Regions from separate parts of the Homo sapiens genome. Here all the other regions are linked to region 3. The links are contacts of gene promoters, found by promoter capture Hi-C in blood cells and fetal thymus (Javierre and others, 2016). All regions are on one chromosome and are shown on one strand. Each heading gives the region's core, a stretch centred on a gene start or on the middle of the fragment in contact. The rest is flanking DNA. Distances are from core to core; before and after follow the strand shown. Region 1 has its middle 26 kb from the start of FAM30A. Region 2 holds the start of BTBD6 (BTB domain containing 6). Region 3 holds the start of TMEM121 (transmembrane protein 121). Region 4 has its middle 91 kb from the start of FAM30A.

Region 1 (3,672 bases), core at 857-3,356, 420 kb before region 3:
GCCCTGCAGACTCCTGAAGACACAAGACACATTTCCATCCCAGAGACCCAGCGAAATGCAACCTCAAACTAGAGACAGCCAGTTATTTTTTCTTGTTCTGTCCTGGAGAGGCCACTGAGAAAGTCGAGCCCCTTGTTGAGGAAAACATGAGATCTCTGTGTGTCGTCCTCTGCCTGATGGCTGTACCTCCATGTGAGTGTCTCAGAGATTTCAGAACGGGGGCTGTGGGCTGTGGTGTCCGCTTGTGACTCATCTCTTTGCTTCTTGTCCCTGAGTGTCCTGCATCAGATGCAGCTACTGGAGTCATGCCCAGGGCTGGTGAGGTCCTCACAGACCTCTGGGCCTGGACCCAGCAGCCCTCTGGGAAGGCGCTGGGGCACCTCAGCTCCAGGGGCAGCACACACTTCAGCCCAGCCTTTCTGGGCCAACTCTCCATCTGTAGAGACACATCCAAGGCCCAGTTATCCCTGCAGCTGAGCTCCGTGATGGCCAAGGGCAGGGCCGCACATTCCCGTGGGAGACAGAATGGGGACCTCAGCGTGAGCCCAGACACAAACCTCCCTGCAGGGAAGCACAAGACCACCAGGCGGCGCTCCAGACCACACAGCGGCCCCAGAAGCAGGTTTTAGGGGGCGGGGCAGACGTGTCCGCGTTGAGTCAGGTCATTGGTTTTACTTTCCCTGAGCAAACGGCCTCTGCCAAGGACTCACTGCACCTCTCACCTTCACAGTTGTTTTTTTTTTTTTTTTTTAATCACCCTGTAGAGTTTTGCTAGCTAATTTAGATATTGAGGAGTGCTTCATACTTCCTTGGGCCTCTGCTTGCAGAAACATAGCAATTGTAAGGAGGCACGTGGGAAAGCCCCGGCTCGGTGACCCGGGGGATGCTGCTGTGGCCCTGGCAAGAGGGCGTCGGGCCGCAGTAACAAAGGTGCAGACGGCTCTCAGCCTGCGCCCGCGGAGTACAACACATAAGGGCTGTAACCTAACGAAAAAAGAATCGCAGTGCAACTGTCCTGCATTTGAGTTTGTGATCAGTTTTGCCCTTTGTCTTTAACAGGTTCTAACATAAAATTTTGAATGTTGGTTCAAGCCCTGTGGGTAAAATGCACTTACCCACATTCCTTAAACAAATAGAACACTGAGGTGGAAATGTTTTGAAAAAGTAGTTTTCAGACATTTGGAAACAAGCATCACAGGATCATAACCCCTGAGAAAAGAAAAACAAATGAACGAATCCTGCTATTGCCTGAAAGCAGCTGCCAGGACACACGGAAAGGCTTAGTGAGCTGAGCGGACAGAGAGCAGAGTTCAAGGCAGCAGCAGCCCGAGGGGAGGAGCACCGGGGAGCAGGCTGCTGTGCAGCCAGGATGGGCCGGGGTGGGGCGGGGGGAGAACAGCTGGAGACTTGCCGCAGGGAGGGGGATCCCTCAGGTTTGGGGCTGAGAACTGACTTATGCCTGACTTATGCCTGCATGAAAAGAAACTACTCGATATCAGGGGGAAATCACCAGAAACCTGTGGACCCAAAACTACACAGAGCCTACACAAGGAAAGCATTGTTTGTGTTCTCCCAGCCAGGGTGGAAAGACCTTGAGATATGTAAAGCTTCAAGCAATCTTCCGAAGTAATCTCGTGAGTAGTGGTGCCACATTAATTCAGGACTAAAGGCTGCTCTGAACTGAACCTAAGAAATGCTTCAAGTGTAGCCTGGAGCCCGGGTGCAGTGGCTCACACCTGTAATCCCAGCACTGTGGGAGGCCGAGGCAGGCGGATCACTTGAGGTCAGGACTTTGAGACCAGCCTGGCCAACATGGCAAAACCTGTCTCTACTAAAAACACAAAAATTAGCTGGGCGTGGTGGCAGATGCCTGTAATCACCTCCCACCTGGACCCTTCCTTGATACATCAGAATTACAACTAGAGATGAGATTGGGGTGGGGACACAGAGCCAAACCGTATCACATAGGAACCTAAAAGGATAATAAAGTAGGAAAACTTCCCACATCAGTAACCCTTTATCCGATAGTAATCCCAATCTGCAAAGTAAAACTGTGTGATTTTACTAAGATAACGGAATCTTCTCTACAGGACTTTCCAGTGCAAAAGCTCCCCACCCTCACCATGAAATGCACGTGACCATTTCCAATTTGTGTAAAGTCCTCAGTTAGTACTGAGACTTCGGAAGGTTAGAAATCCCTTTGCTCATGCTGCATGGTCCGGATGAGATGTAAGAATCATTAGCTAATAGACATGCAACAGCTTTTGTGTGAAAGATGTTATGAGACATTTAAGGTATTTGCTTGTGATTACTAAGCATTCATTGTATCATTGGAGCACATGTGCTTTTATACCCTGGAGAAATTCCAGTAATTGAATTGCTGGGTTGAATGGGATTTTGATTTGGATTAAATTTAAACTATAGATTTTATTTAGGGAAAACTGGCATCTTAATTATGTTATTGGGGGGCCCTTGCTCCCAGAGCTCCCAAGATGGTGGCAGGCCGCTTCCAAAATGACCGCAGGCCACTTCCAAGATGGTGGCAAGCCTCATGTTCTCTGACCTGGGGTTCTTGGCCTCACGGATTCCAAGGAATGGAAGCTTGGGCCATGCAGTGAGTGTTATAGCTCTATTAGAAGCCGTGGGTCACGGAAGAGAACCGTGGAACCCAGTGACTAGTGTTCAGCTCGATTAGGACGAACCCAGGCACTTAGCCGTGCAGGAACAATGGCGAGCATTTGGTCCGATCGAGAGTGGCAATGGGCGCCTCGCTGGATCAGGAGCACAGCGGATACCCTGATGGATCCGGAGGGATGGAAGCCAGCGGTGGGTCTCCCACGGGGGCAAACAGCAGTGGTGGACGGTGAGCGAAAGCGAAGCTCGAGCCGTAACAAACATGGACCAGAAGAGTGCAGTTGCAAGATTTAGTAGAGTGAAGACAGAGCTCCCATACAAAGGGAGGGGACCCAAAGAGGGTAGCTGTTACCGGCTCGAATGCCTGGGTTTATATCCCGATCATTGTCCCTCCCGCTGTGCTCTCAGGTGATAGATGATTGGCTATTTCTTTACCTCCTGCTTTTGCCTAATTAGCATTTTAGTGAGCTCTCTTTACTATCTGATTGGTCGGGTGTGAGCTGAGTTGCAAGCCCCGTGTTTAAAGGTGGAAGTGGTCACCTTCCCAGCTGGGCTTAGGGATTCTTAGTCGGCCTAGGAAATCCAGCTAGTCCTGTCTCTCAATTACACTGAGTTTTCCAATCCATGCATCCAATATGTGGTGTATCTCTTCATATGTTCATAGCCTCTGAGCAATGTTTTACAATTTTCTGTGTAAAGAACTCCACATCGTTTTATGTTTCTTCTAAGGTATATCCTGATTGCTTTTTATGTCTTCACAAGTTTTTTCCTTTCAAAATTAATTTTCCAATTGTTTGGTGCTAATATGCTCAAATGTCCTTGATTTTCTTAGTTTGAACAGTCCGTTTTTGTTTTGGGGATTTATTTTTTTTTCAGATTCTTTAAGATTTTCTATGTCTATAACCATATAATCTCTGAACAGAGACAGTTTTGCTTTTTCCTTTCAACTTGAGGTAGGTTTTCTGGGTAGTTCAGGACGCGCAGGCACTGGGTGGGTGGTGTTAGCAGCTGCACGGTGCCTTGGAGAGGACACTCTCG
Region 2 (3,393 bases), core at 352-2,851, 280 kb after region 3:
CCTCCAGAGTCAGGATGTCTGACTGGGCAGCGCCGTTGGCAAACTCCTCTAGGGTCATGGTTGGAATTCGGACCAGATAGAGGGCTCGCCCCAGAACATGCCTCTTGTTTCGTGGGGTGATTGGCAGCCCCTGCCTCTTGCACTCCGCCTCGGCCCAGTTCAGGACGGCCTCGAAGACCACCGCCTCTTTGGTGTTGAGGGCCTCCCGAGTGACAATGATCTCCAGCGTCTGCCGGTCTATCTCACAGAAGCCTTCGGACCGTAGGGCCATCTCGGCCTGTGCGTCAATGACCTCCCAGCAGCGCTGCGTCAGCTCGGGCTCCTCAAACAGCCGGCTCTGGGACAGCAGGACGCAGGCGTTCTTGGCTTCCAAACTTGTCTCCAGAAAGTTGACACAGGCTTTTGCCAATGCTGGGACGATGTACTTCTTAGCAGCGTACAGAGTGGCCAGCACCGTGTCGGCTTCCAGATCGATCTCATCACTGTACATGTACCTAGGCGAGGCAGGGCCCGCGTCAGGGGCTGGCTCCCAAGCACCCATCGCGGGGCTGGGCCTGGGAGAGGAGTCCATCAGCTCCTGTGTGCTTCCCTTCAGAAGCCTCCGGAGGCCGCCTAAAACGGACCCACCCGTCCCTCCCCAGTAGAGTGGACTTACTTTAAGAGGATCAGAAAGGCTGCGGGCTCCACGTCTGGAATGTGAATTTCAGATTTGACTTCCGCCAGGTCTCCGTAGAACATGGCATAGAAGACGGAGCTGCCGACAGCCAAGACGTACTGGGAGGAGAAAGCGCCGCCGTGAGCCTGGCTCTCCCGCAGGCTGCGTGTCAGCCACACGGCGGACGGGGCGGACGGGGCACGCGTTCCGAGAGGGGCCGCCGCTACCCACCTTGTGGGCGGGCACCGTCCTGGTCGCCCCCGGGGGCCCCACGACGAAGTGCACGTCGGCCATGAGCTCGTTGTTGAACATGAGCGCGTTCCTGCAAAGGTAGAGGCACGGGCTGGGGGCGTGGGCGCGCGCGGGCGCGGGGGCCGCGGGGCACGGGCTCACCTCTCGCGCAGCGTGGGGCGGCAGCACCGCCAGCCGGGGCTCTCCTGGTGGTTGTTGCCGAGTGTGGGCGGCGCGGGCGCGGGCGGCGGCGGCGCTGGCGCGGGGGCGCTGGGCGGGCTGCGCGGCCCGGCCTTCCTGCCCACGGCGGCGCCGGCGTTGCTGTTGGCTAGGTCCGCGGCCGCGGCGCTGGCGGGAGCGTAGAGTTCCGCCGCCATCTTCGCGGGCGGGGCGGCGGGGGCAGCCTCGGCGCCTGTGGACGCCGCGCCCCGCGCCCTCGCGCCGCGCCGGGGCCTCGGGAGCGGCTCTGCAAGCAAAAGCAAGGAGGTCAGGCACTGAGCGACGCGGCCGTGCAGGCAGGCTAGGGGCAGCAGCATGGGCGGCGGCGGCGCTGTGACCCGCGGGGCTGCCACCCGCTCCCCTGCCACCCCCGCCCCTGCGACCCTGCCCGAGCCCAGCCTAGCGCAGCCCGGCCAGGCCCGGCCGCGGGGGGCGCCGTCCCGCCCGCCCGCCCGCCCGAGCCCGTACCCGCCGCGGCGCCGGTGCGTCACGCTGCGTCAGGGCCGCGCCCCGCGCGACGTCGCTGCCTCGCGGCCCCGCCCCCAGGCCCGACATCCTCGAAGCTGCTCGAGCTTCTGCCCAGCAACCGGCGCGAGCCGCGCGCTGTGCAGAGGTAGCCGTGGAAGGCGGCTCCCGGCGCTGGCAGGCGGCCGCCCCCAGACCCGCAGTGCCATGCGCAGGTGCTTGCGCCCGTTCTTCAGTTAGCGATCTTTTGGTTAGGAACGCAGGTGGACCTGCTTGTTTGGCCATTTGCATTCCGGAGTCTGCCTCTGGCCGCGGCCTGTGGGATGGTCGTTGGGCTTCCTCGTTCGTTCAGATGCTTCGCGATTTAGCTTGCTACGGACGCCAGCAGCCAGCGCTTGCAGAGAGCGCGGTCCACTCTGCTCTGAGGGCTTTACAGGGGCAGGCGCTGCTATTTCCCGGCATTTTCCTCGAGGAAATAGGCACAGAGAGGTTAGTCGCGCGCTGAAGGTCACACAGCCGGCGGGTGGGCAAGTCAGGATCTGGCCCTGGGCCTGCAGCCCTGGAGCTTGGGCCCCAGGGCGCGCCCTGCCTCTGTGGCTCTGCCTGTGGATCGCAGTCGCAGGCTCGCTCCTTGTGGGGCCTCTAGCCTCCCGGCCTGGGGCTAATCCTGGGAGGTGCGTGGCATGGGGCACTGGCTTTGCTGATGAGGAGACCAGACTTCAGAGGCCGTGTCACCTGGCCTGGGCCGCACAGCTGGTGCATGCCAAGCTCGCGTGCAGACGAAGCTCCAGAGGCCTGGCTGTCAGGAGGGTTCCTCCCCGAGGACACACACGCAACCTCCTGGACCGCCAGGCTTTAGACTTTTAAAACTTCCATATGCAGGAAACCCCACAGGACGCAGCCAGCATCTCGGGTCATGGGTGCACCTGTCACCGCAGTCCTGGGCTAAACAGTGAACAGGAGCTCTGTGTCTCTGTGGTCGTTACAGTTGTAGTGAATGTTCCCTGGGAGAGTCCTCTTCAGAAGATATTTGCGGTATTTTCAACAAAGGACTCTCCAGGATGGAGGAGCAACTACAAGTCAGGAAGGAAAAGGCTGACAACCCAGTTTTTTAAAAAACGGGCAAAGGACGTGAACAGACACCATGCAATGGCCCAGAGTGCACAAATCATCATTTCTCCCAGGAATGGGGTGCCCGAGCCCCCAGGCGGCTGAACTTGAGACTTGTCACGTAGTGTTGGTGGAATGCAGAGCAGCTGGAGATCACCTGCTGCAGGTGGGTGCGTAACTCCGCACGGCCAAGCCGTTTGGAAAGCTGTAGCATATGCATGAGAGTCCGGAAAGTTCCGAGAGAAAGTGTGTGGATGCACCCGCCAAGGACACACCCACCGAGGCCACAGCTGCGATTTCATAGTGTGGGACCCCACTGGCAAAGACACGCTGGCTGCTGTGGCCGTGGTTTCTGTCCCAGCCGTCTGTTTCCATAGAAAAAGGTAACGGGCATAAGCAGTTTCCAGGAGAAATACAAATGGCCAGAGTGGAGACAGCCTACATGTCCATCAGCAACAGAAAGGATCAGCAGGTTGTGGTGGGTCCATTTGGGGAATGCAGTGAGAAGGAATAACTTACAGCAGCACACAAGACCTGGGCGACAGCTGTCTCCGGGGGTGCCAGGATAGAATTGCTGAGCCGCCAGAGGTAGTCAGCGTCTTGATCTGCATGGTGGTGTGGAGCATGTGAATAATAATTTTCATCCTTAGAAAGAAACCACCCTTTGCACTTTGATTTTTAAATATGTTACAGTGTAGGTTGGGCGCGGTGGC
Region 3 (3,321 bases), core at 571-3,070:
CCCTCCTGGCTCCGGCGGCCCGGACCCCACGCCCGCGCTGCTGGCCTCAGGCCGTTTCCGCGGAGTTCCGGGAATACCCTCTCCCCGCCGCCGCACTGGGCAGGGAGGCGGGCCTGCCCCTCCGCTCTTGGAGTACCCAAGGAGGCCTCGGCCCTCCCAGGCTTTCTGATCCCGGACCGAGAGCCACCCAGGTCCCGATGCATCCGTCCCACAAGCCTCTCCGAGCCTCCCCGCCCCTGCCCGGCAGCCCCCACGCCCCTCCTCCCTGCACGGGCAGGCTCGGTCTCCCCTCCTGTCCACCATCCTGGGCGCGTGGCCACTGCCTGCCCTGCTCCCCATGGCTCCGCATTGCCTTGGCGAGGTGTTGTCCCCCACCCTCTGCCCCGGCAGAGCCACCCTGCTTTGCTCCTCTGCGCCAGGGCGATGCCTGTGGCTGCCCTCGAATCTCGGGAAGCCCGTCCACCAAGGCCCGTCGGGCTTCCACAGGCCCCTGCACCTCTGTCACACACCTGGCACTGGTCCTCATGGCCGTGCTGTCGGAGTCCCCGCACCTGGGCCTGTGCACACCTGGGTGACAATGGAGGCCCGCACACCCGCACCCACCCCAAAGTCACTGACAGGCTTACTCCCAGCCAGCCCCTCACCCCCTCCACAGCCCCAGGCCTGGGGCTCCGTTTACTGCCGTGTCTAGACAAAGGCATAAAATTTAATGTCCCCGTGACAGTCGGGCGCTCGGACTGCCCTGGTGACACCGCAGGCCCCACCGATCCGGGAAAGCGTTGAACTCTGCACTCCCACCCCTGCCCCCACCCAGCACCCGCCGCCCAGGATCCCCACAGCCACACACAGGACACCCCCACCCCTCGGAGCTCTGACAGGTCGCGAGGAGGGTGCCTTGAGGGTCCTCAGCCCATGCCCCTGCCTCCAAGCCTCCCCGCGCTCTGGGTCCCACCGGGACACTCACCCGGTTTTCACGTCCACTGGATCTACACGTCTGACCCAGGAAGCCCTCTCTGGGCCCATTCCAGGCCCACCTGGGCCTCCCCTAGCTGCAGCCGCAGCCTGAGAATTTCCTCCCTCTCCGCGCGTGGCGGGGCCAAATAAATAGCGGGGGAGCCACGGCGCCGCTCACCCTTTCCGGCCGTGCCTCCAGCCCCTCCGCCCCACTACGCTGTCGCTCGATCCTCAGTCACTTGGCAGATGCGGGCCGAGGGGCTCTGCGCTGGCGAAGGGACGGACTCCAGCCCCTAGCGGAGCCCCTACCCCGGCAAGCCAGAGCCCGGCCCGGCCACCTCTCCGTAGGGACCTGGCCCCAGGCCCACCTGTCCTGGGTCTCCTGGGCCCCGGCCGAGGCCCCTCCTCCCCCCACGCCCCGCGGCTCAGACCTGGCACAGACTCTGGGGCCTCCAGGCCCTTCACTGCCCGGGCCCCGCAAGGACCCTCGCCCCATAACCACCCCTCGGAGCCCCCGGGAGGAGGGGCGGGAGGGGGCTGCTGTGCTCCCGCCGCGGGCCGGTGCAGAGCTTGGGCCGCTCCCAGCAGGCTGCGTCTCTGCTTGTCCCCCCGAGGCTTCCCCACGCAGGGCCGGGTCCCCGTCACCCCGCCGGCCCCAGGCCTCACCCCTGCCGCATCGGCCCCCGCCCCACCCCACAGTCCCCACGGCCCAGAGGTGCAGGGTCGCCCAGGCCCGCCGCCCCCTCCGCGGACGCAGCCGCGCACCCAGCCAGTCCCGCCCGCGCCCGCGCCTACCCCGCCGCCCGCAGATGCTGCGCCGCTCCCGGGCCCGCCCGCCCAGCCTCTGCCGCCACTGCCGGGGCCGCGCCGGCTCCTCCCGCCGCGCCCCTCCCCCGCCCGCGCGGCACCGCCCCCGACCCAGAGGCCCCGCCCCGCGCCCCTCGGCCCGCGAGCCCCGCCGGACCTGGGGACCTGGGAGCGCGGGGGTGCCGGTGCCCCGCCCCCTCCGCAGCGCCGGTTGCCACGGCGACAGCACCGCGCGGCGGCGCGCAGGACTGGTGGCTCTGGGGAGCGGGGCGCCCTCGCGCACCCCCAGGCGCGGAGTCCCGTCTCCACCCTCCTCACCCACCGCCCAGAATCCCAGGGTCCCGCCCAGTGCCCCCCGCGCCCTGAAACTCCGCTGCCGCCCCCTAGAGCGACCCCACTCAGCCGGACAGGCGCCCACCGGCCCAGGAGCTGACAGGGATGTAGGCGCGGGGCTGGCCTGGCCGCCGGGGCCCTCCGCGCCACCCTCTGTCCTCTTTGGGGAGAAACCCAGCCTTCCCAGGTTTCTTCTCAGGGCAGAGGAAAGGAATGATGAGCGGCCCCCACCTTCTTCTCCAGCCCGTCCAGGAGGCAAGCTAGGGTTTGGGGACTTGGGCTTCATTTTGTCACTGAGGTGGCACTAAGCCCCTCCCCCCACATCCTGTCCATCCCGTGTGAGCCAGAGAAGAACCCGAGGGCACCTTCTGCCTGCCTGCCCTCCTTCCCAGAACTGCTGTGACTTCCCTCTGACATAGGAGGAGACTGAGGGTCAGAGAGGTAAAGGGACACCAGATTTGGTGGAAAGACCAGAATTTGAGGCACCACCCAACTGGTAGTGAACTTCCAGATTCTCTTCCCGTATCCCCGGGCCTGGACTCAACACGGCCTGAAAGCCAGAAGAGGACAGAGAGCTCCAGAAGTTCTCTAGTCCTGGCACAAGGGGAGGAAAGAAAAAGGTCGCCTAATGCTCCCAGGGTGCAGGAGAATGCCCGGGGGGATGTTAGGGTTTGGGAGGATGGGGTTTTTTGGTAGTGGTTGTTTTTTTACTCTTCTCCATTCTCTGATGCCCCAGCCCCTAGGTATCCCACCAAAGCCATGACCAAGGCATAGGGTTTACAAGCACCTAAAACGCTGAGGCAGAAGAGCCTTCCTTTCCAGCCCCAGGAGATGTGGTCCCCTGTCGCTGGAGAGATGGTGGGCAGGGAGAAGCAGTAGAAAGCAATCCATGGGCTGGGCGTGGTGGCTCACACCTGTAATTCCAGCACTTTGGGAGGCCGATGTGGGCGGATTACCTGAGGTCGGGAGTTCGAGACCAGCCTGGCCAACATGGTGAAACCCCCATCTCTACTAAAAATATAAAAATTAGCCGGGCGTGGTGGCACACACCTGTAATCCCAGCTACTCGGGAGGCTGAAGCAGGAGAATTGCTTGAGTCCGGGAGATGGAGGTTGCAGTGAGCCGAGATCTTGCCACTGCACTCCAGCCTGGGCAACAGAGTGAGACTCTGTCTCAAAAAAAAAAAAAAAAAAAAAGCAACCCCAGGAAGTTGTGCAAGCCATACAT
Region 4 (3,556 bases), core at 553-3,052, 480 kb before region 3:
GTGCCGAGTAAAGCCTCAGTAAAGATTGAGCTTCAGTTCCCCTAACCCACATCATTCCCTTACATCCTTGTCATGCATCTGTCCTCTGTGGGCACTCAGGGCAGGTTACACAGGAATTGCCTGAAGCTGGCCTCAACTGATGTGCTGAGACCACGGGTCATGCACATGTATGATTCCAGGTCATGCAGGCTCTACTGCAGGACAGACCTGTGTCCTGTGGGGCACAGACACCTGCTGACCCCGGGTCTCCTCTAATAACTCACACACCTGGTGTTTGTGTGTGTCCAGATGGCCCCATGAGCACAGCACACTAGGGTGGCCAACCTCACAGGTGGGGCCGTCAGATGGAATGGACAGGCTGGTCACCCCCATCATCAGTGATTTCCCAGTGAATTTTAAATAAATTAAACAAAATTAACAACAAAGGGGAAGGATGTGTACCTGTCTCTGGGAGGTATACAGGGTCCCAGAACTGTGCTGGGAGTGGGTGTGAAATGCCCTTTTGTGTAGAAAGCCCTCCAGCATGAGTGAAAGCTGAAGGAATGATCACTGTGCAGGTGGAGGATGATAGGCAGCTGGCAGGGTACATTTCCTGAAGCTGTTCCTGGGTGCATGATGGTTGGATGGCCCATGGTGATGAGGGCTGGACTCACATAGGAACAAGGAAATTATCCCATGGGAATGGCAGAAAAGAAAACGGAGATGGACACCCCTGGAGACAGCTTATTAGATTTGGTGGAGGAAAAATAGAAATTTATTCCAATGACCCCAGCATTTTCAGCTAAATATGAGTTGCATTAATAGACAGAATTATGAAAGGAAGGGAGAAGGAGTTTATGGAGGGAAAAAAACAGAAGATAAATTAAAATTAAAAACTATGCAAATCTATCAATTGGCAGATAACAGAGTGGAGCTGATGCAGCTACTTCCTTGTTCTGGAAACCTGCCAGAGACACTTAGCATTCCTGTAAGGCCGGTCTAGTGGTGATGAACTTGTCCACTTTTTACTTTTTTGGGAAACTTCTCAAACCTCCTGCATTATTGAAGAAAAGCTTTAATCCATGTAACATATTTATTTGGAAGTTTCTTGGCTTTGTTTTTATTTTCAGCAACTTGAATAGAATCGTGCACATCATGATATTTCGGTGAACAACAGGCCACCTACAGGACAAAGGTCTCATTAGATTATAATACTGTATTTTCACCGCATTTTTCCATGCTTAGATATGTTCATCTGTATAAACATCTACCATGGTGATTCAGCTGCCCACAGTATTCACTACACTTACATGACATACAGATTTGTTACCTAGGAGCACTATGCTATCCCACGCAGCCTGGGTGTAGCAAGGTATTTCATGTAGGTTTGTGTAAACACACTCTATGATCCTTGCACAATGACAAATTGCCTAAGGACACATTGCTCAGATGTATTCCTACTGTTTTTCATTTTTTTTTAGATGGAGTCTCACTCTGTCACCCAGGCTGGAGTGCAGTGGCACAATCTTGGCTCACTGCAACCTCCGCCTCCCAGGCTCAAGCGATTCTCCTGCCTCAGCCTTCCGAGTAGCTGGGATTACAGGCATGAACCACCACGCCCAGCTAATTCTTTTTTTCTATTTTTTAGTAGAGATGGGATTTCACCATGTTGCCCTGGCTGGTCTTGAACTCGTGACCTACATGATCCACCCACTTTGCCCTCCCAAAGTGCTGGGATTACAAGCGTGAGCCACTGCGCCTGGCCAGTGTATCCCTACTGTTAAGCCACAAATCATCGTATCTCATCTCTCTCCCTTTTTTGTCCCTGTTAATATTTTCATGTTGTGCGTGCATTCTTCTCCTAGCTCAGTGAACATATTTATAAGGTTTACTTTGAATTTTCTGCTAGGTAATCAATGTATCTCCTTTTAATTTGTGTCAGTTTCTAGTGCTTTTTTTGTTAAATAATTTGGACCACTTTTTTCTGTTTTGTGATTATTGTTATTATTATTATTTTTTACTTTCTCTGTTGCTTTCTCCTCATTAGAAGAAAAAGCTACCGTAATCACTCTTCACAGAATATGCCCAGGGAAAATGCCATCACCTATCAACCCAGGCTGTCATTGTGGCATCTCTTAAAACTTCATAATGGTTGAAATTTTTTGTTGTTGTTGTTATTAGTGGCACTCAGACCTACAGAGGATTTTAAGTTTTGCTCCTACTCTAAATTAGGTGGCATTGAAATTCATCCTGCAGGCAGTCTCTGATAAAGTGGAGGAATTGGGCAGTTTTGTTATGCATATGGTTCATAAAAATAATATGAGTTTAAGGTTTTCTCAGCCAAGTGCTATATCCTGATATTTTATAATCACTTCTTTGAATCTCTCTTGGGTTTATCTTTTGAAAATTTAGATCAGAATATAAACCAGGTTTGAGGCTTTTTGTTTGGTGTAAACATCTCCTATAGGTCATTGCGTGAAAAGGCACAGAGTCTATCTGAGGAGGAGAACTCAGGGAAGCCTCACAACAACAGGGGAGACAAAACCGAGGTCACTAAAAAAATATGAAGCTTCTGGCTCCTGCAGCCTCCAGACATGCCCCACACCCTCTCATTGCACACAAATGAATTCCTTTCTCTTTCCTGAGTGATCTTTGCCAAGATTCCTCTCCTCCACTTTGACACTTTGGTATATCCATGTGTGTCCATTCTGGTTCAGCCAGGGACACAGAACCAGGAAGACATCATGGCTTTTCTAGAGGGAGCTGGCTTGGGGAATCAATGGTTGGAGTAGAAAGTGTCTTTGTCCATGTGTCACAGCCCTGAGGGACACGGGAAGAAGGTCAGGAAGACAGGATGACCAGACGGCTGGAGCAACCAGTATGAACAAAGCCACTTTCTTTCCTGGTGAAGAGGGGCATTTGGAAGCCTGGTGTCCCTGTAGGGGATGAACCACACTCACCTGCCCACTGTTACTTGCCAACGAGGTGACCCGCAGAGCAGCAGATCCTGAGTCACCGACAGTGGCTGCTTCCTCCTCCAAACCCTCCAAGATCTGTCCTTCCAGGAGTGTGAACCTCAGCAGATCCGCACGTTTTCAATGGGTCCACTTAGCTAGTGTCTGTCCTCAGCCCCATCCCTGGGATCCTGTCCTGGTGCTGTGTACACTGTCACAATAGTGGTGACAGTGACAGCTGGTGCCTGCACTTTCCAGGCCAAGAAGTTTGAAAGAAGCAAGTCACAGGGCCAGCCTGGATTTGGGGCAAACACACAAATTTCACTCTGTGGGGAAGTGCTGGGAAGCAGCCTTGAGTCCTCCTCAGCTCACGTGTGGCTGCTGCTTCTCATCCCAGGTGGGACACATGAGCCCTCCCCATGCCCAGGATGGAGCTGTTTCAGTCACAGCAGGATGGGAATGTGTCTTCTCTATGGGGGCTTTTGAAGCACAGCTCTCCTGTTCCTGAGATTTGAGATTTATAAAGACAAGTCCCACAGAGTGAACCTGCACAAATAAGACAGTACAGGATCCCCAGGAGAGACATCCCATATGAGAAGGGACAGGCAGGTCCCATCACTGAC

The links. The method cuts DNA at HindIII sites, captures the fragments that hold promoters and counts their contacts. A CHiCAGO score of 5 or more calls a contact.
Region 1: a fragment that was not itself captured here is called in contact with the fragment with the promoter of TMEM121 in region 3 in 1 of 17 cell types (erythroblasts); the score reaches 6.3 in erythroblasts.
Region 2: a contact is called between the fragment with the promoter of BTBD6 here and the fragment with the promoter of TMEM121 in region 3, in 8 of 17 cell types (non-activated CD4 T cells, M0 macrophages, erythroblasts and 5 more). The highest score is 8.4, in non-activated CD4 T cells.
Region 4: a contact is called between a fragment that was not itself captured here and the fragment with the promoter of TMEM121 in region 3, in 7 of 17 cell types (M2 macrophages, total B cells, erythroblasts and 4 more). The highest score is 16.6, in M2 macrophages.

What each region holds. Positions count from the first base shown.
Region 1 is chr14:105,942,057-105,945,728 of GRCh38, reverse strand. It overlaps IGH and the pseudogene IGHVII-1-1. Among named protein-coding and RNA genes, the nearest start is that of FAM30A, 26 kb to the right of the region's middle. The HindIII fragment of the contact is 994 bases long and covers 1,610-2,603 here.
Region 2 is chr14:105,246,741-105,250,133 of GRCh38, reverse strand. BTBD6 (BTB domain containing 6) reads right to left here and starts at 1,601. Exons shown (of 4, transcript NM_001387567.1): 1 at 1,049-1,601; 2 at 887-977; 3 at 656-774; 4 at 1-494. The coding sequence starts at 1,422. The region is part of intron 5 of BRF1 (BRF1 general transcription factor IIIB subunit); the gene reads left to right. RefSeq lists enhancers at 1-393, 1,185-1,975 and silencers at 1,000-1,049, 1,250-1,809. The HindIII fragment of the contact is 26,340 bases long and covers 1-3,393 here.
Region 3 is chr14:105,525,082-105,528,402 of GRCh38, reverse strand. TMEM121 (transmembrane protein 121) reads right to left here and starts at 1,820. Exons shown (of 2, transcript NM_025268.4): 1 at 1,750-1,820. RefSeq lists a silencer at 1-162. The HindIII fragment of the contact is 18,865 bases long and covers 1-3,321 here.
Region 4 is chr14:106,007,164-106,010,719 of GRCh38, reverse strand. It overlaps IGH. Among named protein-coding and RNA genes, the nearest start is that of FAM30A, 91 kb to the right of the region's middle. The HindIII fragment of the contact is 1,496 bases long and covers 1,055-2,550 here.